Regions from separate parts of the Homo sapiens genome. Here regions 2 and 3 are each linked to region 1. The links are contacts of gene promoters, found by promoter capture Hi-C in human tissues and cell types (Jung and others, 2019). All regions are on one chromosome and are shown on one strand. The core of a region is centred on a gene start or on the middle of the fragment in contact, and the rest is flanking DNA. Distances in the headings are between cores, read along the strand shown. Region 1 holds the start of DOLK (dolichol kinase). Region 2 overlaps SPTAN1 (spectrin alpha, non-erythrocytic 1). Region 3 overlaps SPTAN1 (spectrin alpha, non-erythrocytic 1).

Region 1 (3,594 bases), core at 444-2,943:
CAAAAGCTACACAAAGAACCCAGAGAACCCACTCAAGAACACCACCACTTACCAGCTCTCTCAGAGCTGACCTTCCAAGCAGAATAGTCCACAGTTCTCTACTGCTCCTGCAAAATGAGAGAACAGAGGTAATTTTGCTCTTTCTGATCATACAAACTTGTACACTGCCTCATAGCCATTTTGTCTGCTCTCTAAAAGCAAAAAATCTCAATATACAAAACGATTTGTTAAATTTTTGGAAAGTAATCTTGTTATATAATAATATTGTTAGGGCCGGGCACGGTGGCTCATGCCTGTAATCCCAGCACTTTGGGAGGTCGAGGCGGGCGGATCATGAGGTCAGAAGATCGAGACCATCCTGGCTAACACAGTGAAACCCTGTCTCTACTGAAAATACAAAAAATTAGCCAGGCGTTGTGGCGGGTGCCTGTATCCCCAGCTACTTGGGAGGCTGAGGCAGGAGAATGGCATGAACCCGGGAGACAGAGCTTGCAGTGAGCCGAGATCGTGCCATTGCACTCCAGCCTGGGCGACAGAGCGAGACTCCGTCTCAAAAAAAAAAAAAAAAAAAAAAAAAAAAAAAAGTGGGGAAAACACTGCTGGCACAGGGAAGGATAAGAGACGGGGATGTTTAACTTTGAGGGAGGGTGGTGGGAAGAACGAAGACCTTCGAGCTGCAATGTGGAAGACAGAAGGAGGCGTGGTGGTCTGGTTATAGCACTGGAGGTACGCAGACTTCAGCTTGAAGGCTCTCTTTATCACTTGGCTAGCTCTGAGCCGGACTTCTGAGTCATCTGTGAAATAGAAGGCGCCTCTCGGAGTTGCGAGAATTGAATGAGATAACTCCTGGGAAGCGCTCCACCAGGGTCTGACGCTAGAAAGCACTTTGTCAGAATTGTAGTTTTCGTATATAATATTTCATCTTCTTGTCCCTAAAGCCTAGTTCAATCCCTGAAATCTCTTGGAGGATTTGGACATGCTGGCTGACTTGATTCAGTGCAAGAAAAGAACGATACGAGGCGCGGAGAGGACAGAAGCCGCAAGCGTGGCTCCGCTCAACGCGAAACAAAATCCTAACAAGAACAGATCGCGGGAGAGGTCGGGGAGCCAGCAGGGCGCACTCGACGCCGGGGCAGGACACTGGGAGCCTGCAGCAGGGACGTGGGTGGGGGGTACCCCAGGAGACCGCAAAGCTCCCCGTGGCTCGAGGGAGCGTCACGGCCGGAGAAGGAAGCGCGGGTGGGGCGCCAAGAGACGCGTCGGAGGTGAGAGAGGAGGAAGGCAAAGGGCCCTGGGTGAGGAGATGGGAGGCCGAGCGCGGAGGGAAGGGGTGAAGAGCCGGCCCCCCTCCTGAAGAAGACTCTTCAGATCCCCGCGCGCGGGGACCGTTTGGACGTAACCGCCTCCCGTCTCGGTGCCCGTCCATCCAGCCGGGGTTGGCCCTGCCACTGTCGCCACATCCCGCCTCCAATTCCCGCCCCGCTTCCGCTCGGCTTTGACACCGCGCTTCACAGCCACCCCGGTCCATTCGACCCGCTCCGCACCTCACACACGGCCCGCCGGCGGCCGCCGCCATCTTCGCGCGCCCGCTCGCCCTAACCCCGCCCCCAGACGCCATGCCCACGTGACCGCTCGCCCCCGGACCCGGAGCGTGGGCGGGGATTTCGTCACGTGACGTTGCCGCGGGGCGGTGCCAAGATGGCGAGGCCCAAAGAGGTGAGGAGCCGGCAGCGGGGGCGGCTGTAACTGTGAGGAAGGCTGCAGAGTGGCGACGTCTACGCCGTAGGTTGGAGGCTGTGGGGGGTGGCCGGGCGCCAGCTCCCAGGCCGCAGAAGTGACCTGCGGTGGAGTTCCCTCCTCGCTGCTGGAGAACGGAGGGAGAAGGTTGCTGGCCGGGTGAAAGTGCCTCCCTCTGCTTGACGGGGCTGAGGGGCCCGAAGTCTAGGGCGTCCGTAGTCGCCCCGGCCTCCGTGAAGCCCCAGGTCTAGAGATATGACCCGAGAGTGCCCATCTCCGGCCCCGGGGCCTGGGGCTCCGCTGAGTGGATCGGTGCTGGCAGAGGCGGCAGTAGTGTTTGCAGTGGTGCTGAGCATCCACGCAACCGTATGGGACCGATACTCGTGGTGCGCCGTGGCCCTCGCAGTGCAGGCCTTCTACGTCCAATACAAGTGGGACCGGCTGCTACAGCAGGGAAGCGCCGTCTTCCAGTTCCGAATGTCCGCAAACAGTGGCCTATTGCCCGCCTCCATGGTCATGCCTTTGCTTGGACTAGTCATGAAGGAGCGGTGCCAGACTGCTGGGAACCCGTTCTTTGAGCGTTTTGGCATTGTGGTGGCAGCCACTGGCATGGCAGTGGCCCTCTTCTCATCAGTGTTGGCGCTCGGCATCACTCGCCCAGTGCCAACCAACACTTGTGTCATCTTGGGCTTGGCTGGAGGTGTTATCATTTATATCATGAAGCACTCGTTGAGCGTGGGGGAGGTGATCGAAGTCCTGGAAGTCCTTCTGATCTTCGTTTATCTCAACATGATCCTGCTGTACCTGCTGCCCCGCTGCTTCACCCCTGGTGAGGCACTGCTGGTATTGGGTGGCATTAGCTTTGTCCTCAACCAGCTCATCAAGCGCTCTCTGACACTGGTGGAAAGTCAGGGGGACCCAGTGGACTTCTTCCTGCTGGTGGTGGTAGTAGGGATGGTACTCATGGGCATTTTCTTCAGCACTCTGTTTGTCTTCATGGACTCAGGCACCTGGGCCTCCTCCATCTTCTTCCACCTCATGACCTGTGTGCTGAGCCTTGGTGTGGTCCTACCCTGGCTGCACCGGCTCATCCGCAGGAATCCCCTGCTCTGGCTTCTTCAGTTTCTCTTCCAGACAGACACCCGCATCTACCTCCTAGCCTATTGGTCTCTGCTGGCCACCTTGGCCTGCCTGGTGGTGCTGTACCAGAATGCCAAGCGGTCATCTTCCGAGTCCAAGAAGCACCAGGCCCCCACCATCGCCCGAAAGTATTTCCACCTCATTGTGGTAGCCACCTACATCCCAGGTATCATCTTTGACCGGCCACTGCTCTATGTAGCCGCCACTGTATGCCTGGCGGTCTTCATCTTCCTGGAGTATGTGCGCTACTTCCGCATCAAGCCTTTGGGTCACACTCTACGGAGCTTCCTGTCCCTTTTTCTGGATGAACGAGACAGTGGACCACTCATTCTGACACACATCTACCTGCTCCTGGGCATGTCTCTTCCCATCTGGCTGATCCCCAGACCCTGCACACAGAAGGGTAGCCTGGGAGGAGCCAGGGCCCTCGTCCCCTATGCCGGTGTCCTGGCTGTGGGTGTGGGTGATACTGTGGCCTCCATCTTCGGTAGCACCATGGGGGAGATCCGCTGGCCTGGAACCAAAAAGACTTTTGAGGGGACCATGACATCTATATTTGCGCAGATCATTTCTGTAGCTCTGATCTTAATCTTTGACAGTGGAGTGGACCTAAACTACAGTTATGCTTGGATTTTGGGGTCCATCAGCACTGTGTCCCTCCTGGAAGCATACACTACACAGATAGACAATCTCCTTCTGCCTCTCTACCTCCTGATA
Region 2 (3,594 bases), core at 1,023-3,522, 370 kb after region 1:
TTCACCATGTTGGCATGGATGGTCTTGATCTCTTGACCTCATGATCCACCCGCCTCAGCCTTCCAAAGTGCTGGGATTACAGACATAAGCCACCGTGCCTGGCCCAACAAATACTTTTTACATCACAAAGGATCAATGTGCCAAGTAGTAGCACTTCTATCTCGCCAGAGCTTGTCTGTTTGCTTTTATGGACCACAGTGAACCTCTTGACACTGAACCCAGTTAAGCCTCTATCAGAAGCAGGTAGACCAGGTCTCCAAAGGCAAAACCAACCATAATCCTCATGATGAGAAACACCTGTGAATAACATGGTACCAACGCCGACTATAGGCCTCACCCAACACTGATAAACTGGTGCATTATAAGCTAAAATCTTCACTTCTGGAAGATTCTAGAGATACCATTACCTTGTGCTCTTGGTGTCTATCTAGCAGGGCTTCAGCCCCAGCCACATCACTGGCAAGCTCATCTGCATTGATGAGGGCTTTCATCTCAGTCACCCAGCTGGTGAGGTCACGGAAGTCAGCAAGGAAGCGTTGAAGCCTAGGGAAAACCAAAGGAAGACATTATGTTTCCAGCGGAGGTTCCAGGGTGGAAAATGGCCTCCCTAAAGCTCTGAATTCTATGTTCTCAAATGTCTAACAAACTATATAAATTCTAATTCTGGGAAATATGAAAATTTCCCAATCTAGACTGTGAAGGAAAGCAAGAGAAGGCTGAAATCAACCCTTTAAAACTTAGGTTCTCTCCATCACTATAATGCCCCAATCCTGTCCCACATTTTCAACTTCCTTGTTATTCCCAGGTTCAACCCTTGGCTAGCAAGGATTCTTTTCCTTTCTAATCCTGGTTTTAATAAGATATTTCATGTGATACTCAGATACTTAAAGGGACATTCCCATTCTATCAATCATAATGCAGTGATGCAGAATAGAAGAATTTATGAAGTTGTAAATACCATACGTATACTACACATGATACAGTTGCCAGTCTCCAAACAGAGAGAACATAGGTAAGAAGTGATTTGCATTTGTAGGTGATACCTGACACTTTCACAGAACACAGAACAGACCCTTAACTCTGCTATTCCTGCTTCCAAAAAAGAAGCCAAATGATACTGGTTAAGACCTGGAGCATTATTTGCACCTGTATGAATCATTGAGCCGTGCATGTCTCTCTGCCGCCAAGGTGCGGATCTGCTCCCAGTTTGTAATCAGTTCCTCTCGCTTCACTTGAATCTGTGTTGCACTCAGAGGGTGGGACTGTTGCAGGCGGTCAGCCTCAGCACACAGGGCTTTGACCTAGAAATGAACTCCGTCAGAACTATTCTCCTGACCCTTGGTAACTTATTTACAGAATCAGCTGCTTGTAAAACCCACCTTGTCTTCTAGAGCAGCAAGATCTCTCTCCAGACCCTCGTGCTTCCGAAGCAGAGCCTGAACACTTGCCAGGTCTCGGCCAAAATCATCAGAGGCCATTAACTGCTCCTTTTCCTTAATCCAACTGATAGTCTCATCCACATCCCTACAGAACAAAGGCACCAGTTAATCCACAGCAATGATGACTCCCTAGAACTAGGAACACCCCATGGGACCAAGGCCTAGTCAGCCTCGACAGCTCACCAGCACATGCCCTGTGCTTCACAACTCCCCTCCAGGTTGAGACCCATTCCCCAAAGCCCACTCTGGCTTGACACCTGTTAAAGCGCTGAACTTCTGCTGCCCCAAAGAGCTTCCCCTGCCTCTGCAGAGCCAGGCCCTTCAGCCGCTGCCAGGCTGCATTGACTTCATCCTGCTTAGTCTTGATCAGTTCCTCCTCAGGGTGCTGCTCCTAAACAAGGAAGAGAAGAGACTGGATTTGTACACAACTTCTGGCTCCTCCAACTAGTTACCCTGGGGTTGGTTCCTTGAAGCATCTCAGCAAATCACCACTCTGAAGAGAATCACAAGAAATAATGGTCAACATGATACAAAGTGAACTACAACTCCAAAGAGTTTCTATTTCTTATGTAAAAAGGGGAGAGCCATTCTCTATCTTTTGGAGTAGTGTGGTTAGTCTATAAGGTGGTTATGTGCAAAAGTGCCAAAAACCTTTATGTTAATAAATAGTTTGGCAACAACTGTGTGGTAACTTTATCAATGTACTCATCTACCCTAACTGCTTGAAAATTTGGTATTTCAGATGTTCATGAGGCTGTTAAGCATTCTTGCACATAAACATAATTTTCGGGGCTCAAGAGTTTGTCCCTGGCTTTAGACTGACGACATTTCTTTTTTTCTTTTTTGAGACAGGGTCTTGCTATGTTACCCAGGCTGGTCTCAAGTGATCCTGTCTTGTCAGCCTGAGTCTGAGTAGAGTAGCTGGGTCTATAGGCAGGTGCCACTGCATCAAGCTTAGAGACATTTCTTTAAAAGTATCCTTCCCTACCAACCACATTTTGGTGTTTTAAAAAATATGATACAAAGTAATAAAATGAAGCATTTCAGGGTTCTTGAATCCATCTGGGATACCATGGGTTTGGCCTGACTACTTTTCTCAAGCTCAACCGCAGGAAAGCTTAGGGTTTGGAAAAGCAACACATCTGTCACTGTGGAAGGGTGAGATATTTCTGAGGAATGCCGGGTATCTTTCTCTTAATCACTGGCCAGAAAATGGAAACAAGTACCAGCCTATAAGCAGATTTATACACTTAAAATTTGTACCCCCCAAATCAAATTTCCCTAAAAGTAAAAACTCTCTGGTTCCGAGTACTTGATGTCTTTGGAACCCTTTGGACTCGTAGTGGAAGCAGCTTACAGGATTGTACACGTGGGCACTGGGGAAGGGTTGTCATTCCCTCTTAATGGGCTCCAGCGCCAGAGTGGAGAGCCTATTCACGACAAGGTTCTCCCAGGCTCCCAAGAGAGCCCAGGGAAGCTTCAAATAAAAAAGGAAGGCAAGAGCCCTAATGCATTGGTGGACATCTGCCAATACTAACTTAGCATTCACCACCACACCCTCGTCTGAGAAACCCTGAGACCTAGCTTCAGCAGTCCAATAAAAGCTTCACCCAGCCCTACCCAAAAGTGGGTAGAGGAAACAGATCAAATGAACTCTGCCCTTCCTGCCCAAGGCAACACATTGAAAAGCATTTTCCAATTTAGGAGTAATCAGTATTGTGCCTCACATCTAAACAAAACTCTCAGACATGCTTACAAAAACTTGCTCACTCAGAAATTAGGGGACCAATCATCAAAATTTTATCCTGAATATACTAAAAAGTTAACATAATAATGTTGTGAGAAGCATACAGCACTTTGCTATTTACCTGTATGAGTTTGGCAGCAAACTGGTTCACTTCATTAACTCTTTCTTCATGAGCAGCCATATCTGTTTGAAACTCTTCAAATTTCTTCTGTAAAACCTCTACATGCTCCAGATCCTGGCCCAGCTCTTCAGAAGTAACAATTGCTTCCTATTCAGGGACCATAAGAGAGCCAGAGTCACCAACCAACATTTGTTAACAATGGCTTCCAGAAACATCAAACAGACACATTAGGGACGGAGCCATGTTAGCTTTAATGGATACAGTTTTGTCTGTGGTTTGTGATTTTA
Region 3 (3,594 bases), core at 646-3,145, 330 kb after region 1:
TCCTTACTTCCTTAAAGCCTTCCGACCAGGCGCAGTGGCTCATGCCTGTGATCACAGCACTTTGGGAGGCCCAGGTGGGTGGATCACTTGAGGTCAGGTGAGGTCAGCTCGAGACTAGCCTGGCCAACATAGTGAAACCCTGTCTCTACTAAAAATACAAAAATTAGCCAGGCATGGTGGCATTCTAGCCTGGTGACAGAGCGAGACTCCATCTCAGAAAAAAAAATGTTTGTTTACCTGCCACATCAACTGGAATCAGTAGACTGACATTTTCGGGGACAGATAGAGAATAAGAAAAAAAGCAACTCCTTCCTTGGAGAAGTGATCTTCTCCAGAAGCTCAGAAACAAACTCACTAACTTTCACGGGAATCTAAAAGGCAGGGTCTAGACAGGGCCTATGTAGCCAGCATGGATCACCACCACCGCCAATTATCATCACTGTAAACCCGGAAAGCAGAAGACACTGAGGCATCCCACGACTGTGTGCCCAAGCTGGGATCCCAGTCCAGCAGGGTTTCCAGCCTCACCACTCAACAGTCAGCCTGTGGTTCCTGCTGCCCACTATTACAGGCGTAAGGGGCCTTCTAGAGGGCTGAGAAGACATACTTGATCCAGGACTCCTCGTCATCCATGTCCCGGAAGAACTGGTGCAGGCGATGGGATTCATTCAGCTTGGCTCGCCGGGAGGCCGCCATGCTCTTGATCTTCTGGAAGCGCCCGTTGATGGTGTCCCTCTTGTCCTTTACTTGGGAGGTGTCGAAGGCACTGCTGGTCATCAGGCTGTCTGCCTGGCTGTTCAGGTCCTTCAGGCGATCCTGGGGCAGGGGACATAAGAGGGTCAGAAACTGGGTCTCCCACAGCTATCTGCTTGAACATAAGAACTCAGGAATTCCTTACTGAGATGTGGAGTGTTGATATTCTCAAAGTCTGTTATGTGGACCTCTGGCATTCTATCAACTCACACTATTTTCATAACATTATAAGACATTATTATTTTTTACCGTGTGGACATTTGCACTGATAGTACAAAAGCAATGGAGGAGGGGACATGCTGGTGCTTTAGCTCAAATCAAGGCAGTGGCAAACTACTAGCAGAAGTGGATTCTTCACTGCCACCCACTCACAGTGAAAAAAAAATGCTGTTTCACTTAAAAATGTCCTTAAAAAGGCAGTGAAAGTTAATTTTACTGAGTAGCCATTCTTTTGTACTTGAAAGAACAACCACCGAACAAACTATGCTCATTCAGACTTGGTATCTCACAGATACTCGGTCCAGAATAAATAAAGTGAGCCTGTCACTTCAAAGAATACTGACAGTTTGTTACTAATGATAAAATTCAAACTTTTATGAGAAAGTTAGAATTTTAGAAAACTTACACCCACCACCAGGAGCCTGAAGGCTTCCTAATATGTGAAGATTTTTCTAATGAAATTGGTGGTGGTATTAACTGCAATGTTTTGATATCATATAATCACATGTGTCAACATATAGAACAGGCATAACTCAGTGAAGCAATATTTACCAAATGAGCCATGCATGATGTTGCAAAATCATGCACAGGTAAGAGCTACATTCAAAGCCCAAGATGGACCAGTGGGTTTTAATATAATCCAGTATAAAAAGTTTACTGACAAGGTTTCAGGGGCCACTTTGCAACTAACCCCCCAACAACTTTTTTTTCCTTGCTCTGTCATCCAAGAGTGCGGTGGTGTGATCATGACACACACACTGCAGCCTCAACCTCCTGCCTGGACTCAAGTGAACCTCCCGCCTCGGCCTCCAAGTAACTGGGACTATAGGTGCATACCCCAACGTTTGGCTAATTAATTTTTGTGTTTTTTTTTTGTTTTTTTTTTGAGACGTAGTCTCATTCTGTCGCCCAGGCTGGAATACAGTTACACAATCTCGGCTCACTGCAACCTCTGCCTCCCGGGCTCAAGCAATTCTCCTGCCTCAGCCTCCCAAGTAGCCGGGATTTATAGGCACATGCCACGCCCTGCTAATTTTTTGTATTTCAGTAGAAACGGGGTTTCACTGTGTTACCCAAGCTGGTCTCGAACTCCTGAGCTCAGGCGATCCACCCGCCTCGGCCTCCCAAAGTGCTACGATTACAGGCATGACTCACCATGCCCAGCCTAATTTTTGTATTTTTTTGTACAGACAGAGTCTCATCATGTTGCCCAGGCTGGTCTTGAACTCCTGGGCTCACATGATCTGCCTGCCTCGGCCTCCCAAAGTGCTGGGATTACAGGTGTGAGCCACTGTACCTGACCACAGCTAAGCTTTAAGAAACTATGACTTTGGTATAGTATCAAAGAAAATTATTCACACTTACCCGAATCAAAATATTCCTCCCTTTTCTACCTACCTACCTGTGTAAAACTGAATTTTCATCCAATGCAAAACACCACAACCTGAATTCAGCATTTTTTTTTTTTTTTGAGATGGAGTCTTGCTCTGTTGCCTAGGCTGGAGTGCCGTGGCGCGATCTTGGCTTACCGCAACCTCCGCCTCCTGGGCTCAAGTGATTCTCCTACCTCAGTCGCCTGAGTACCTGGGATTACAGGCAGCCACCACCACGCCCGGCTAATTTTTGTATTTTTAGTAGAGACGGAGGTCTCACCACGTTGGCCGGAGTGGTCTCGAACTCCTGACCTCAGGAGATCTGCCTGTCTGGGCCTCCCAAAGTGCTGGGATTACAGCCGTAAGCCACTGCACCTGGCCTTAAAATTTATGTAATTTTTAATAATGGTGAGCATTGATAAAACCTACATAATAAAAATCTCTCAAGAGCCCTCAATAACTGCCAAGTGTATAATGATCCTGAGGCCACAACCTTTGAGAATGGCTGCTTTAAGTGAAAGAAGTCACTCTCTTTTCTCAAACACGCTTGTTTTCCTTAGGAGTCAGGCAGAGCTGTGTCCCAGGCACTCGGGCCTGGCCCGCCTCCCTTTGCTTACCTCATGGGCAGATATATCTGCTTCCAGCAGTTGATGCTTTTTCAGCAGGTTGTTCACAGAAGCTAGGTCTTTGCCATAATCTTCGGATGCCAGCAGGGCCTCCACCTGGCAATGAAAACACAAAAAGCAAAGGCTACTGTGTGGTGTATACTCAGCATTCTGGAAAATTCAGGTTGCCCAGTGGCTATTCCAGGGCCTTGCTTGGACAGTTGAATACTTCTCCATCACAATGTGTTACTGTGATTCCTAGCCACCCCAATCAGCCTGCCCGGCCTGAGACACTCTCTCCACTCGGTCAGTCAAACCTAGACTCCAGAGTCTATTCATAGTAAATACTACAGCTAAGGCAAAATGCACAGCAATCCTAGTTCAAGGAAACCCCCCTAGGAAAGAATCAGCAGTGTGGACAAAGATTAATATTCAAAGATATTCACTACAGCAAAATATATACACCAAAAGGCTGGGAACACCTCAATGTCCAACAATATGGGAATGGTTACATTATGGCATGGCTCTATGATAAACTTACGCAATTATTAAAAAAAAAAATTTTTTTTTTTTGAGATGAAGTCTCGCTCTGTTGCCCAGGCTGGAGTGCAATGGTGTGATCCCAGCTCACTGCAACCTCCACC

Evidence for each region. Contacts are between HindIII fragments. The study calls those that stand out against the background at their distance.
Region 2: a contact is called between a fragment that was not itself captured here and the fragment with the promoter of DOLK in region 1, in 2 of the 25 tissues and cell types used here (dorsolateral prefrontal cortex and heart right ventricle).
Region 3: a fragment that was not itself captured here is called in contact with the fragment with the promoter of DOLK in region 1 in 1 of the 25 tissues and cell types used here (aorta).

Annotation. Positions count from the first base shown.
Region 1 is chr9:128,945,702-128,949,295 of GRCh38, reverse strand. DOLK (dolichol kinase) reads left to right here and starts at 1,693. Exons shown (of 1, transcript NM_014908.4): 1 at 1,693-3,594. The coding sequence starts at 1,993. It overlaps NUP188 (nucleoporin 188), which reads right to left and starts at 1,597. Exons shown (of 44, transcript NM_015354.3): 1 at 1,545-1,597; 2 at 53-107. The coding sequence starts at 1,576. RefSeq lists enhancers at 1,478-1,527, 1,247-1,808, 1,878-1,947, 1,809-2,370, 2,371-2,933. The HindIII fragment of the contact is 11,289 bases long and covers 1-3,594 here.
Region 2 is chr9:128,575,059-128,578,652 of GRCh38, reverse strand. SPTAN1 (spectrin alpha, non-erythrocytic 1) reads right to left here. Exons shown (of 57, transcript NM_001130438.3): 5 at 3,308-3,454; 6 at 1,697-1,830; 7 at 1,380-1,524; 8 at 1,147-1,301; 9 at 408-543. Among named protein-coding and RNA genes, the nearest start is that of SPTAN1, 24 kb to the right of the region's middle. The HindIII fragment of the contact is 4,698 bases long and covers 1-3,594 here.
Region 3 is chr9:128,612,854-128,616,447 of GRCh38, reverse strand. It overlaps SPTAN1 (spectrin alpha, non-erythrocytic 1), which reads right to left. Exons shown (of 57, transcript NM_001130438.3): 40 at 2,963-3,067; 41 at 608-816. Among named protein-coding and RNA genes, the nearest start is that of DYNC2I2, 42 kb to the left of the region's middle. The HindIII fragment of the contact is 6,237 bases long and covers 1-3,594 here.